3 separate regions of the Homo sapiens genome follow, and regions 2 and 3 are each linked to region 1. The links are contacts of gene promoters, found by promoter capture Hi-C in blood cells and fetal thymus (Javierre and others, 2016). All regions are on one chromosome and are shown on one strand. Each heading gives the region's core, a stretch centred on a gene start or on the middle of the fragment in contact. The rest is flanking DNA. Distances are from core to core; before and after follow the strand shown. Region 1 holds the start of ANKRD17 (ankyrin repeat domain 17). Region 2 holds the start of UBA6 (ubiquitin like modifier activating enzyme 6). Region 3 holds the start of CENPC (centromere protein C).

Region 1 (3,865 bases), core at 594-3,093:
TAGACATGTGTCAAATCCTTTAAAAGGTACTTCTCTATTTCAACAGAGACCAGGATTCAATAATTCCAATTTTCGGAAAACCAGACTTGCATCAAAATAAGTTCCATGTTTGTGGAAGAGAATAAATAGTAAGTGGTACTTTTAGATGAATCACTTGGTCTCCTCTTAGAACTAAGTTTAAAATCAGCCTTTAAAGCTGTTTTCCCTCTGCTGATAAAGATTTCCCTCTCCAAATAAAGATTTTTCTAGATTCTATTTCAGGAAGGAGACAAGAGAGTGGTAAAACAGCTAATAACTAGTAAAGCTAACTCTCAGTTGGTTGTCAGTATGGTATGTTTTACTGAGCCTTTGGGTTGTAAGGGCTTCTGTGAGGAATAAGGTCCTGCAACGCCGCCTGTCTGTGGACCCAGGAAAAATTATAAAGTTATTATGAAACCAGATCACTAGGACAAACCGAGAGGCCTTCCTATTCCAACTCACCACAACCAGGCCTGGCTCCAAAGCCTACCCTTTGGCTGTCCCATATTACGGGACAACAGGTCCTAGCTTAATTCTAACTCACTAAGGAAACATTCGAAGGCATGTATGTATGTACGTGTAAGGATCAAATATATTTTTCATCCACTTACAAATGTATATGGTCATTTGTAATTATTTAAAGTTACTGATAAATTTATACAAATACAGCATCAGTTCATCGAAAATCCCTGGGAGATCGAGGAAATGAAGTTACTTCAGCAGCCAGGATAGTTACGAAAAACCCTGCAGAACAGTATGGAAAAGTACAGCTTCTCACGTGTCCCTCACATACACAAACACTTAGCTCTGAGTCCATTACAACCTTACGTCCCCCCTCAAACTGCTCCCCTCCACCTCACAACTGGGAGAAGTTGATCAACCTCCTAGTTGGTCCCCAAGAGACTCATTTACCCATTATTTTACTCCTCCCGCTTTGATCCCGATCCCGCCTCAGACTAAGGTGGCCCTACTGGCCCCAGGCAGACCACCCCCCCACCCCCCGGCGTGCAAACAGGGAATCTAACCAATTCCCTCCATCCTTAACCAAGTGAGCCATCCCATGATAACAGGCTGTTCACCAACTCTGTGAACTCCGTGGTCCTCCCACCCCCACGTGTCAGCTACCCTCCCCCACATTCCCACACCTCACGATTTAGGCCGAGGGAAGAAAGGGGGCAGTCGAAAGCCTGGCCCCTAAGAGATCAACCCACTGGAATCTGTCCCACTCCAAATCCCCTCCCACCTTCGGCCCCTATCCCTTACAGTCCCTTCCTCCCTCCTTCCTTTGAAACCAGGCCCTTGCCTCAGAAACCTCCTCTTCCTCGTCGTCGTCGTCCTCTTCTTCCTCGCTGTTGTTACTGCTGGTGCCGCCGCCGCCACCTCCGCCTCCACCGCCGCCTCCACCGCCGCCGCTGTTGTCGCTGTCGCTGCTGCTTTCGCTGCTGCTGGGGGGTCGGCAAGTCCGGTTACGCTTGGCCTTGTGGTGCTGCTGCTGCGGCGGCTTCTTCTTCAGGAGCAGGTCGCAGACTCGCACCATCCCACGAGGAGACGAGGCCGAGCGAGCTCTGCTGCTGCCGCCAACGCCGCCGCCGACCTCCGCCGCCGCGGGGGGGCCCGCCACAGCCGCCACCGCCGGGGGGCTCCCTTCTCCTTCTGCAGCCGTCGCCGCCGCCACCGGAACCGTCGCCTTCTCCATCCCCAGGGAAAGAGGGAGGGCGCGGACGGGGGAGGGGCGTGGGGCTACGCTCTACCGCGACTTCGGCCGCACTGGGGCCGACACAGCAATCGGTGCCGCCTCCGCCGCCACCGCCTCGGTCACCTCTACTGCCGCCGCCGCCGCCGCCGCTCCGCCAGCTCTCACCTCGTCTCGCGATACTAAGGGCGGGGAGCCTGACGATGGGAGGGAGGGAGGGAGGGAGAGGGAGGGAGCAAGGGAAGGAGGGTGAGGCGTAACAGGGAGACCGGGTGTCGGGAGAACCAGAGGAGAGGAGACTGGAAAGAAGCGGGGAAGTGTGCCTGGGGCAGCTTCCGAAGGGGAACGGCGGGGACAGATGAGGGGGGCGCGATTGCAACCAGAGCGCCCGCGAGCTCCCGGATTTCTTCTCTTTCCTCGCTATTTCCCGCACACACAGCCCTGCAGCCCTCCCTTCTTCCTTCCTGGCTTGTGATTAGAACGCAGCCGCAGGCGGAAGTGCAGTGACGCCATCAGCCGTCGCCTGAGCCGTGGCGCGCGGGTGGCCGAAAGGCGAAAGTGAGATTTCAAGGGCCGGGTCTGGGGCCCCGCGGGCGCGCAGTGCTGCGGCGTGTGGGGAGTACGGGGAGGCTGGAGAGGAGCCGGCCCCGGGCAGTGTGAGGTGCGGAAGCGCGGTCCAGACACTTTGCTGACGGGAGGCCGGTCCGCCAGATCCGGGAGGTGGGGCCTCGTTCTGGACTGCTGTACGTAGTTTTATTCCTGGTCATTTTTTTCCACCGCCAAATCGAGAGATAGAGCTTTGGATCATGAGAGATGGCGTCGTGTTGGGAAAAGAGCCTTCTTTACCTGAGTTTAAGCTCGGCTCATAGACATCCTCTACCTGAGTTTACACGTGTGTAATATGAAGGCAGTCGATTAGGAGATGTCTAAGATCATTACTTACACCTCAAGTTTCCAAGGGGAGGAAGACACGGGAAGGATGCGTGGTCTGTGCCAGACTTTGTAGACGATTCACTGAATGACCCTGATTTAGCTCTTCCGGCCCTCTTCGATTCAGCTTGGAAGCAAGCATAAATAGTGATTGTTGTCTGTATACTTCTCTCGGAAGGAATGCTGTTATGGGAGTTGTGGGTTCATTTTTAGGTGTCTGAAGAAGTTTCAGGACTTTTGAAATGATAGTGGAGCCCATTGAACTCAGAATTATCCCTTTCTGGTCTAGTAGGAGTATAGTGGCATACGGAAAATGAAGCAAACATCAAAGACAGATGTACTGGCACAAGATTAAAAGTATGTCTCAGCTGACATAGTTGCCATTTTAAGACTGCTTAGTTTAGCTGAATATGCCTGGATTTTTTTTTTTTTTAGCATTTTTTTTCTTTTTAGCATTGGCATACCATATGAAATGTGGGCAGTTGCCAGTACTCTACAGAGTACCAAGGCAGAATTGGCAATGACTAAATCAATTCATTCAAACAAAAATTCATCATGTGCCTACTGTGCGCATAATTTGTGGAATCAAAGTCTCTTGTTTCCAGGGGCTTTACAGTGTAATAAGTGCTATAGTAAATATATATACGGAGTGGTAACCATCTGCCTATTCCTCTCCTACAGTCGTTGCTGAGTTCCAGTGTAGAACAGAGCACTGCATTGTGTATCTCACCACTACTGATTTAGATTTTATAATTTCAGCTGCATCCCTCCCTCCTACTTTGTATATTCTTCAGCATCTTTTTCTCCCTTTCCACTTGAATACTTTTCGCAATCTTTAAATCCCAGCCCATTTTATTATATGACTTTTAACTTAGACTTCACAATTTTCCAAGTGCTAGAAATTTCCTGAGATTGCCTTTTCTCCAGTATCAACGAATGAGAGACTCCCTGTTCATATATGAGATAAACTCTTCATACATATTCTAGTTCCAATACCCCTCTTTCTCATGCATTTATTATCTTTTCTGTTGTCAACCTTCTACAAATTCTGGTTCCTTAGCTAATTCTTCTGTAGCTTTCAATTATTTCCTTCACAAGCAAACTTTCTTTCTTTAAAAAGTATTCTATACTCAGGAGGCTGAAGCAGGAGAATCGCTTGAACCTGCGAGGCGGAGTTTGCAGTGAGCTGAGATCCTGCTACTGCACTCTAGCTTGGGCGACAGA
Region 2 (4,193 bases), core at 1,446-3,945, 5.6 Mb before region 1:
TTGTCCAAACAGTGGGCAAGCACTATTGCTATCTCCAACGAACAGATGGAAAAAAGAGGCTGAGGGAGGTTAACTTAAAATTTGCCCAAAGTCACAGAGCAGGCAAATGGCACTGCCAGGATCTGAACCCAGGCAGTCTAGCTCTTGACTACCACACATACTGCCTACTGTTTCTGATATTAGACATAAAGGAAACACTTAAAAAAACCTGTTAAATGGGATGGGCGCGGTGGCTCATGCTTGTAATCCCAGCACTTTGGGAGGCCAAGGCAGGCGGACCACCTGAAGTCAGGAGTTCGAGACCAGCCTGACCAACGTGGTGAAACCCTGTCTCTACTAAAAATACAAAAATTAGCCAGATGTAGTAGCAGGCGCCTGTATTCCCAGCTACTTGGGAGGCTGAGGTGGGAGAATCGCTTGAACCCGGGAGGAGGAGGCTGCAGTGAGCCAAGATCCCACCACTGTACTCCAGCCTGGGTGACAAGAGCAAGACTCTGTCAAAAAACAAACAAACAAAACAAAACAAAAAAACCCTGTTAAATGAATAAATTTTAAAGGAAAAAAACTAATCTAAATATGCAAATCTGACAAAGTATACTTATTATAGTAACATATTATTTATAGCAGTGCTCGTCCCATTTTCACAGCATGGCCTTCAAAAAACGTATCTGTACTAAACACTGGCAAGCAGAGATAATTCCCAGGTACAGGGAACCAGTCTGGAGCATTTGGAGCTGAACCACTGTGAGAGCTGAGATCAATATACTGGCAGAAGTGGAGGCCATTCCTAGTTCTGAGAAGCTCTAGTTGTCAATTAAAAGATTCTAAAAACAATGCGATGGCATCAAATTCAGGCTTGGAATCCAACTTTCTAGTCCTAGCATTGATAAATAAGCCAAAGAATTTGTAAACAAAGGTAATTAAAATGTTATCATTTATCTCACCAAACACTGGCACATATCAAATGATACCAGCTTCTAGCTAATTAAACGGATAGCTATTAAAAAAACTGATTCCAATTACCAAGGCAAATCAGAAGATAGCTGTGTTCTAAGAGATCACCTACCTAATAAAAAACACACACATACACAATATACCCTGTTTGGGCATTGTAACAAAATATAAAAATTAACAAAATTTGTTTCTTTTCTTTTTTTTTGAGACAGGGTCTCTCTCTGTCACCCAGACTGGAGTGCAGTGGCACGATCTCGGCTCACTGCAGCCTCGATCTCTCTAGACTCAAGCGATCCTCTCATCTTAGCCTCCCGAGTAGCTGGGACTACAGGCGTGCATCACCTACGCCCAGCTAATTTTTTTGTATTTTGTAGAGACGCGGTTTCGCCATGTTGCCCAGGCTAGTCTAAGAACTCCTGAGCTCAAGCGACCCGCCTGCTTCGACCTCCCAAAGCGCTGGGATTGCAAGCGTTTGAGCCACTGCGCCCGGCCAAAGTTTTTTATTATCTACTTTCCTATCATTTTATCCCTAGTACACTTTCACTTGCTGTTTTCCTTGCATGGCGGGGGCAATAGGCCTGGTGGGTAAATCTGAATAAAAACGAGAACAGCTGCAGTCTAACTAGCTCTGCCACTTAATGGCGTGACTGGCCCTTTTCAGAAAGTTGTGCCTCACTGGAATGTTTCAAAAATATGTAAAAATAATATGATCTATAAGACAATCAAAAACGCTTCAAATAAGGCGCGGGTTATATTACATAATATCCCTCCACTCTGGCAGTGTTGGCAATGGCAGACAACACCATGAAACTGAAAGCATCCCTTCAGTCTGAAACTGGCGAAAAGGCTACAGGTTTACAAAGTCTCACATCAGCTGAAAATAATACATCCATCAATTCTATCTTTGGCATGGTGTATTCTGACAGTGGTGGATAGAATGTAACCACTTGCTTTATTAATTATGAGATGATTGAAAGAGGAACTACTAACCAAGAAATTGGTAAAGGCCTAGCACAAATATTTTCCCCCTAATTTTACAGGGGCGGGAAAGACCTGAAGAACTTCAAAACCAAGTGGGAAATAAGAATGGGTAACTTGTGTATTTTTTTTTCCTGGCTTTTTTTTTTTCCTTCTTCCGAAGTCAACAAAGGCCTCAGGGTGTCCAGATTGCTACTGATTCATTCTTACCAAGTTCCTTCTGGTAATAGTTTTCAAAAGAGGATCTCAGTGGAGGTGCACAGTGGCGCTCCTAGCTTTCTTTTTACGGAAAGGAGGAAAGGTGCTTGGCACCAGTCGGGGAAGCTCACGCCAAGTGACCGAGACCAGAACTCGCTCTCGACCGGAGCCCCCCAAGTCTGGTGACTTGGAGGAAGGAGGATCCCGAATCCCAGCCAGAACTGAGAAAGCCCTCAAAGGTGCGGAAAGGGGACTTTTCCCTCAGGAAAGCCGGCAACAGCAGAGGCCCTAGCCCACGTCGCCACACCCACTCCGCGCGCGCCCCTCGCCTCCCAGGGCCGGCTCTGCTCGGCCCCGCGGCCTCTCGGGCGCCCCCAGCCCGCCGGAAAGAAAGAAGCAGAAACCCGGAGCCTGGGTCCCACCCGCGACCCCTCACCTTCGCCCTTCTCGTCCTCTCACCTGCCAGTCCCCCAGGAAGAACAGGACGCCTCTTCCCCCTGATGGGCGGCCACAGGCTCGGATCCTTCCATTGCCGCCTGAGACACCGCCGCCGGCTACTGGAAGGTAGGAAGGGGCGGGACCGTGGGGGGGTCAAGGGGCGGGCGGAGACGTCATCAGAGGGGGCGGGCCTGGGGAAGCTAGGAGCCCGGCAGCGCCTTCCCGTCAACCCTAGGGGCGTCCTGGTTTCCGGTTTGGGTGTGGCCGCATGGCGTGCTGTGGTGCAGGTGGCCGAAGGGGGCGTTACTGTTGCGACTGGCATCCGCATCCGGCAGATGTAGATGGAACCAAAGTCCAGAAGTTACGCGTCACCCTTGCTCTACAGCCAAACATGCAGGACTCTAGTAACCCGCGAAATGATGGGATAGCGTTGCAAATCCTTAAAAGAGTCTTAACGGTAAGAAGAGGAAACAGCTTTATTTTATAAATAAACTGAAGGCTGCTAATAGCTCCAGATTGTCAGTGAGGGGATACCACTTAAAGATGTTATACATTTAATAAATAATTTTGGGAGTCCACTACATGTGAGGCGCTGCCTCAGATTTAATAGAATCATGTGACTTTTAGTGCCATAGATGTCGTTAGATCATCCAGTTTGGTCCCTTAAATTTGTGGGTAAGGGAAAGGAACTTCCGGTCAGTGCAAGTGACTTGGTCAAGGTTATAGAGCTAGTCACTGTTAGATTACCAGAACACATATCTAAAAAGTTCTCATATAATTCTTTTTCATTTACTTCCGTGTCACCTTTCTTAGAAAGCAAAAATGAGTTGGACACAATAACATTAGGATTTGTCTTTCACTAAATAACACTGTATATTTGAATAAACATCTGCAGGATTTTTAAAATTAGCATATACTTTGGGTATTATGTAATTTTCTGTGATGTATCATATTTTTAATTAGAAATTTTTCCTCTCATATGGAGATGAGGGTCCAGGCAAAACTGTATTATCCTTCGTGCCCTCTATTCTCTTCAAAATTGCACATCTTAAAATACCTGGAAGCTTTATGTTGCTCACCTATAGCATTATCCGTGTTCCTCAATCCAGTTGTGAACCTTTTCCACATTAAAATGTTCTTGATCTGTGTTCTATTCTTTCAAGGCTCTGCTCTAGCACTAAGATAATGCTACAGGACTGAAGATAATGAAAAAGATTGAAGAAAGCAGAAACAGAACAAAAATCAGATTATTTCAAAGTTTCTTTCCTTGTAAAGGTTAAAACAGAGCATACTTCCTTATTATGCCCACTAGGTTAACTAGAATCTCCTGTTTTTTTAAAAAAAACTGGCTCATTTTTTCAAAATCCACTTTAATTACATGGTGCTTAGCACAAGCAACTCCATTCTGGTTTGATCTGATGGGGCCTAGTGTAGAAGGCTAGGCCAAAACAATGGCCTGCCATTACCCACGCTTCTTCATATTTTAACATCCATGAATAGAGGATGAATTTTTAAAAAATAAATACAGAAAACGATGCATCTTAAAATTGAGGGCATGTTAGATTTGATAAAATATGGTGTGAATTATTTCAGGCATGTAACAAGCAACCAGATTTAACAGATTT
Region 3 (4,197 bases), core at 1,638-4,137, 5.7 Mb before region 1:
GTGCAAATCTAGTTAAAAACCCCTAGCTGAATCCTATGCCCTCATTTTGCAGATAGGCAAACTGAAACCCAAAATGGTCAAATGGCCTACCTCAGTTTGTAAACCTAAGTAGTATTAGTGGCCGGTTTTCTACCAGAATATATATAGGTGACTATTATAAATTCTGGCCTTGACATCACCCCAAAATACCACCTACAGGTGCACATATTGCACAGCTATAAATACACTCCTGCTATTACCTGTTTCAAGGATGAGATCCAAAAAGATCAGATTTGCCAAGGTGATAATGCAGAGTCACTATTAGAACGCAGGTCACATTAGGCAACAGCTTTTTCAAAATTTATCAAATTCGTCTTTTCTTCCCCTTTGTCATTATTACCTTAGCATAAAAGCACCTCCACCATGTGTAGATTACTACAACACCCTCCTTAAGCTACTTTGTAAACATCAAACATCTTTGCTTTTTTAAATGTGTGTGTGTGTTTATATCAGATAGCCCTTATTCCACAGAAGATTTAGGAGAGCTTATTCAAGCCTATAATAGATGCCTAAAGCCTAACATATCCATTTTATGGCTCAATCCAACTCATATGGTCTTGTTTTCCACTTCTACCCAACATATTCAACCTTCTTAAATCAGGTCTCTCTGCTACTGACAAATATATGTATTCCTACTTTGGTTCCTTCGTTAAGTTACTTTCTATGTCTGGAATATACTTTATCTTAGTCTTTAAATACCTGTTCAAGGTCCACCAAAGTTACACTACAACTTTAAAGCTTTTCTTAATATCAACAACACACAAATCCCTAATTTCTCACATGGCTGTCTATACTGCAAGTTAATGCCTAATTATATATAGGCCTACTCTCTATGATACACAAGTCATTACTTCAGTATTGCAAGTAATAATTTTTGTCCATTAAATTGTTTCACAAATGTACATATACATTTTCCCAACAGAAATCTAAGCTTCTTGTAAACAAAAGAACATACTTCTGTGCCCCATTGGACCTACTAAAATCACAGCTCAATAAACATGACGTTATTCATAATAACATCTTCACTTTTAAAAACATGCTTTTCATCCTATTACTAGTAAATATTTAACTAGAAAATTTACTTTTTACAGGTTTTACAACTAAAAGAAGAACCAAAACAACCCAAACAAGCACTCAACAAATGCACGACAGCATGTACTATTTTTCTTTTTGCCCCACTGAATAAGCTACATCTTTCTAATTTTACCATTTGATTCATTCTACAAAATGCTTTTCCCATGGCAGTCACTTAGTCAGAACTGAGACTCCCTCTTCCTGGTTCCACTATTTTATCAGGTGAATTTCTTTTTTCACAGCCACAAAGTCATTGCACTGCTTGCATTAACATTCCCGTTAGTATAAGATGACTACCCTTAATCAGTGGGCACAGAAATCATTATATTAGTCAGAGGTGATAGTTTTTCCTTTCTTCATTTAAAAATCTATTAACGATGAGAATAAAAATAATCTTAAAAGCTTAAGTACGTAAATCACCTGGAAGGTCGACAAAATCTTCTTCTGTAGCCATTTTTGAGATGATCCTGAAAGAAAAGTAAATCATCAATTTGGTTTCTTTAAGATAGAGTCGAGTAAAATTTATTTTCAAAGTAACTTCATCCAGTATGGGCATGCTATACACCAAACATCTCCTAAGGGCTCAAAACAATTTTGAGGTTATGTTATGACATAACATAGGTTATGACAGGCATTTAAAAACTGAACTGCAGGCATCTGGTAAGCTTTATTCCGCTTCTCTCCCCACAGTGAGAATGGCTTTATTGCTTTCTTCTGATTATATATAATGTAAACAATATATGTGCTCATAGTAAAAAGTATAGATTATATTATTCTTTCATACAACTCTTTATGTTTATATGTATAACGTCACATAATGGGAGATCATCGAAGCTGAAGATTTTCTTAGAAGGGGAGATAAATTAGAAAAGAAATGATACGGATTTTTATATAGTAACCATAACCAAAGTATGAAATATAGAATAGTGAACACCAAAGAAGTCCAGAAATATGTAAACAAAATGAGTTGTCGCCCCCATTAGTCATTCACAGCTTGTACCTTTTAACTGATAGCTGTCTTTCAGAAGAGTTTGTCAATAACATATGCTCCATAAATCAGCCTCAAGAACTGCATAAAAGGCCACCATTTTGACAGAAGAACTGAAAACGTCAAATTATTTCGAGACGTACTTGTTACATAATCTGTTTCTCCCAACTACCAAGTGTGACGCAAAGACACACTTTTAAGGCGTTTCAATACTTCTACCATGGGGAGAAAAGTTATTTGGAGGCCTAGGAACTGGAGCTAGACTAAAAAGCAGAAGCCAAGATCGCGCCACTGCACTCCAGCCTGGGGGACAGAGCAAGACCCCGTCTCAAAAACAAAAACAAAAAAAAACCCAGCAGAAATCACAAGCACCTCTCAAGAGTAAGACGTAGGCACAGACGAAATGACGACATGAAAACTTAAGAAATAATAAAAGTACAGTAAATTAACTCTGGTTATCGACACACGATCACACTTGATTTCAAAAATTCCTGCGGCTTTCCCACTGAAATCCCTCAGAGATCACAGCCTCAGCCTAGCATTTCCTTCTCCCCAGCCTCGGGCGCCCGTGCCCCAGCCAGCCGCTCAACCACTCGCCTGGAGCGGGGGGCCTGCACTTACCAGACCGGACGCAGCCATGTTCCGGCCCCGCTGAGCCAGCGCAACTGTCTGAGGTGGAAGCCCACACGGACCACAGCTCCAGGAAGCCGAGCAAGAAACGAATCGCCGGAATACCAGGCCGCGGCCAAGCAATAACCTTAAGTCTCAGGCGACTGCCGCGAGAGCTGCGATCCGGAAGGCGCGCGCTAACAACACTCCCCCGCCATTGGCTCCGCCCTCAACAAACAAGAACGCTTGGCCTGTGCCTGGGTTTGAACCCGGAGACACATGCGCAAAACGGGCCGCGCCGTCCAATAGGAAGCAAGCCGTTAGTGGGCTCGCCCCTTCATGCTCCAGGCCAACGGCCCTCCAGCCTGCAGACCCACCCGCCCGCCCTACCTCTAGCCGCTCTGCTCTTCCCACCTCCCTTCCTCAGCGCCGCGCCCGGGACAGGCGCGAGACTGGGCTTTTATTAGGAAGGCACGATCCTGGGAACCGCTCCTTGTGCCCAATGTAAAACTTCTCAACAGTTCTATTAAGGAATAATAAGTAATACTTGGAAGGATGAGAGGTAGAAATTGCAGACGACTTTTTTTTTAATAGAATCTTTTTTTGAAGAGATTTTTCTAATGCAGATTCGTCAGCCACGCCCAGCCCATCTAACCATCATCTCTGAAAATAATTGAATAATTATGTATAATAATGGTGATGATGGCTTGTATTCTTTTTCAAGTATGTGGGCGATATTTTTATGATGCATTGCCAACAAATGACCCACGTAAATATCTATCATTTAAGTATGATGCACTGAAAAGAATTCTATACAGAATCCTGAAACCTGCCAGCCATTGACTAGCTATGTTATGGAGGGCAAAATTGCGGCACCATTCTGGGTGTTTCCATAGTGATAGAATGGAAGTCTAAATTAGACGCTCTGAAGACTTCTCACCTGACCAGTGTATGATTCTATGAAGCTGTATCTTATTTTATTATTTAATTTAAAATTACAAGAAAATTCTAATCAGAAAATAGTTTACTAATTGAATAAATACATTAATCAGGAGTTGAGCTAATAGATTTTTAAAACATGTAGTGCTTTAACAAATGCTGTCAACTATGAAGGCCAATTTTTTTATTTTATTTATTTTTTTGATAGAAAAAAAGGAACTATGATCTCTGACTGAAATTAGGCCTGGATTGCACTCCATTCCATTAATTCTGCCATTATGGGCAACTAAGTTATCTGTTCCTTAATTCTCTTGTCTGCAAAATGAGAATACTATTAAAGTGGTTGAGATGTTGTAATTGAATAATTCCTGTTAAGATCTAAGCACAATGTTTGGAACATAGTAAGAATTCAATAATAAAGCTATTGGAATCATTATGGAGAGTTTTTTACTATGTTTGGCAGTTTTGCCAATCAGTCCAACTTATAATTTGGTGCTGTCACATTTGGAATAGATAATGATAAACACTAACATTTATTGACTGCATAC

The links. The method cuts DNA at HindIII sites, captures the fragments that hold promoters and counts their contacts. A CHiCAGO score of 5 or more calls a contact.
Region 2: a contact is called between the fragment with the promoter of UBA6 here and the fragment with the promoter of ANKRD17 in region 1, in 4 of 17 cell types (total CD4 T cells, non-activated CD4 T cells, total CD8 T cells and 1 more). The highest score is 11.0, in total CD4 T cells.
Region 3: the fragment with the promoter of CENPC here is called in contact with the fragment with the promoter of ANKRD17 in region 1 in 1 of 17 cell types (naive CD4 T cells); the score reaches 5.5 in naive CD4 T cells.

Annotation. Positions count from the first base shown.
Region 1 is chr4:73,256,955-73,260,819 of GRCh38, forward strand. ANKRD17 (ankyrin repeat domain 17) reads right to left here and starts at 1,844. Exons shown (of 34, transcript NM_032217.5): 1 at 1,322-1,844. The coding sequence starts at 1,714. ANKRD17-DT (ANKRD17 divergent transcript) reads left to right here and starts at 2,212. Exons shown (of 5, transcript NR_187399.1): 1 at 2,212-2,454. RefSeq lists a silencer at 1,536-1,935 and enhancers at 1,897-2,493, 2,096-2,365. The HindIII fragment of the contact is 8,436 bases long and covers 1-3,865 here.
Region 2 is chr4:67,698,460-67,702,652 of GRCh38, forward strand. UBA6 (ubiquitin like modifier activating enzyme 6) reads right to left here and starts at 2,696. Exons shown (of 33, transcript NM_018227.6): 1 at 2,590-2,696. The coding sequence starts at 2,660. It overlaps UBA6-DT (UBA6 divergent transcript), which reads left to right and starts at 2,819. Exons shown (of 2, transcript NR_015439.1): 1 at 2,819-3,025. RefSeq lists silencers at 2,420-2,589, 2,720-2,789. The HindIII fragment of the contact is 4,018 bases long and covers 1-3,630 here.
Region 3 is chr4:67,542,616-67,546,812 of GRCh38, forward strand. It overlaps CENPC (centromere protein C), which reads right to left and starts at 2,888. Exons shown (of 19, transcript NM_001812.4): 1 at 2,723-2,888; 2 at 1,534-1,580. The coding sequence starts at 2,740. RefSeq lists enhancers at 2,643-2,882, 2,660-3,210 and a silencer at 3,033-3,172. The HindIII fragment of the contact is 5,245 bases long and covers 1,777-4,197 here.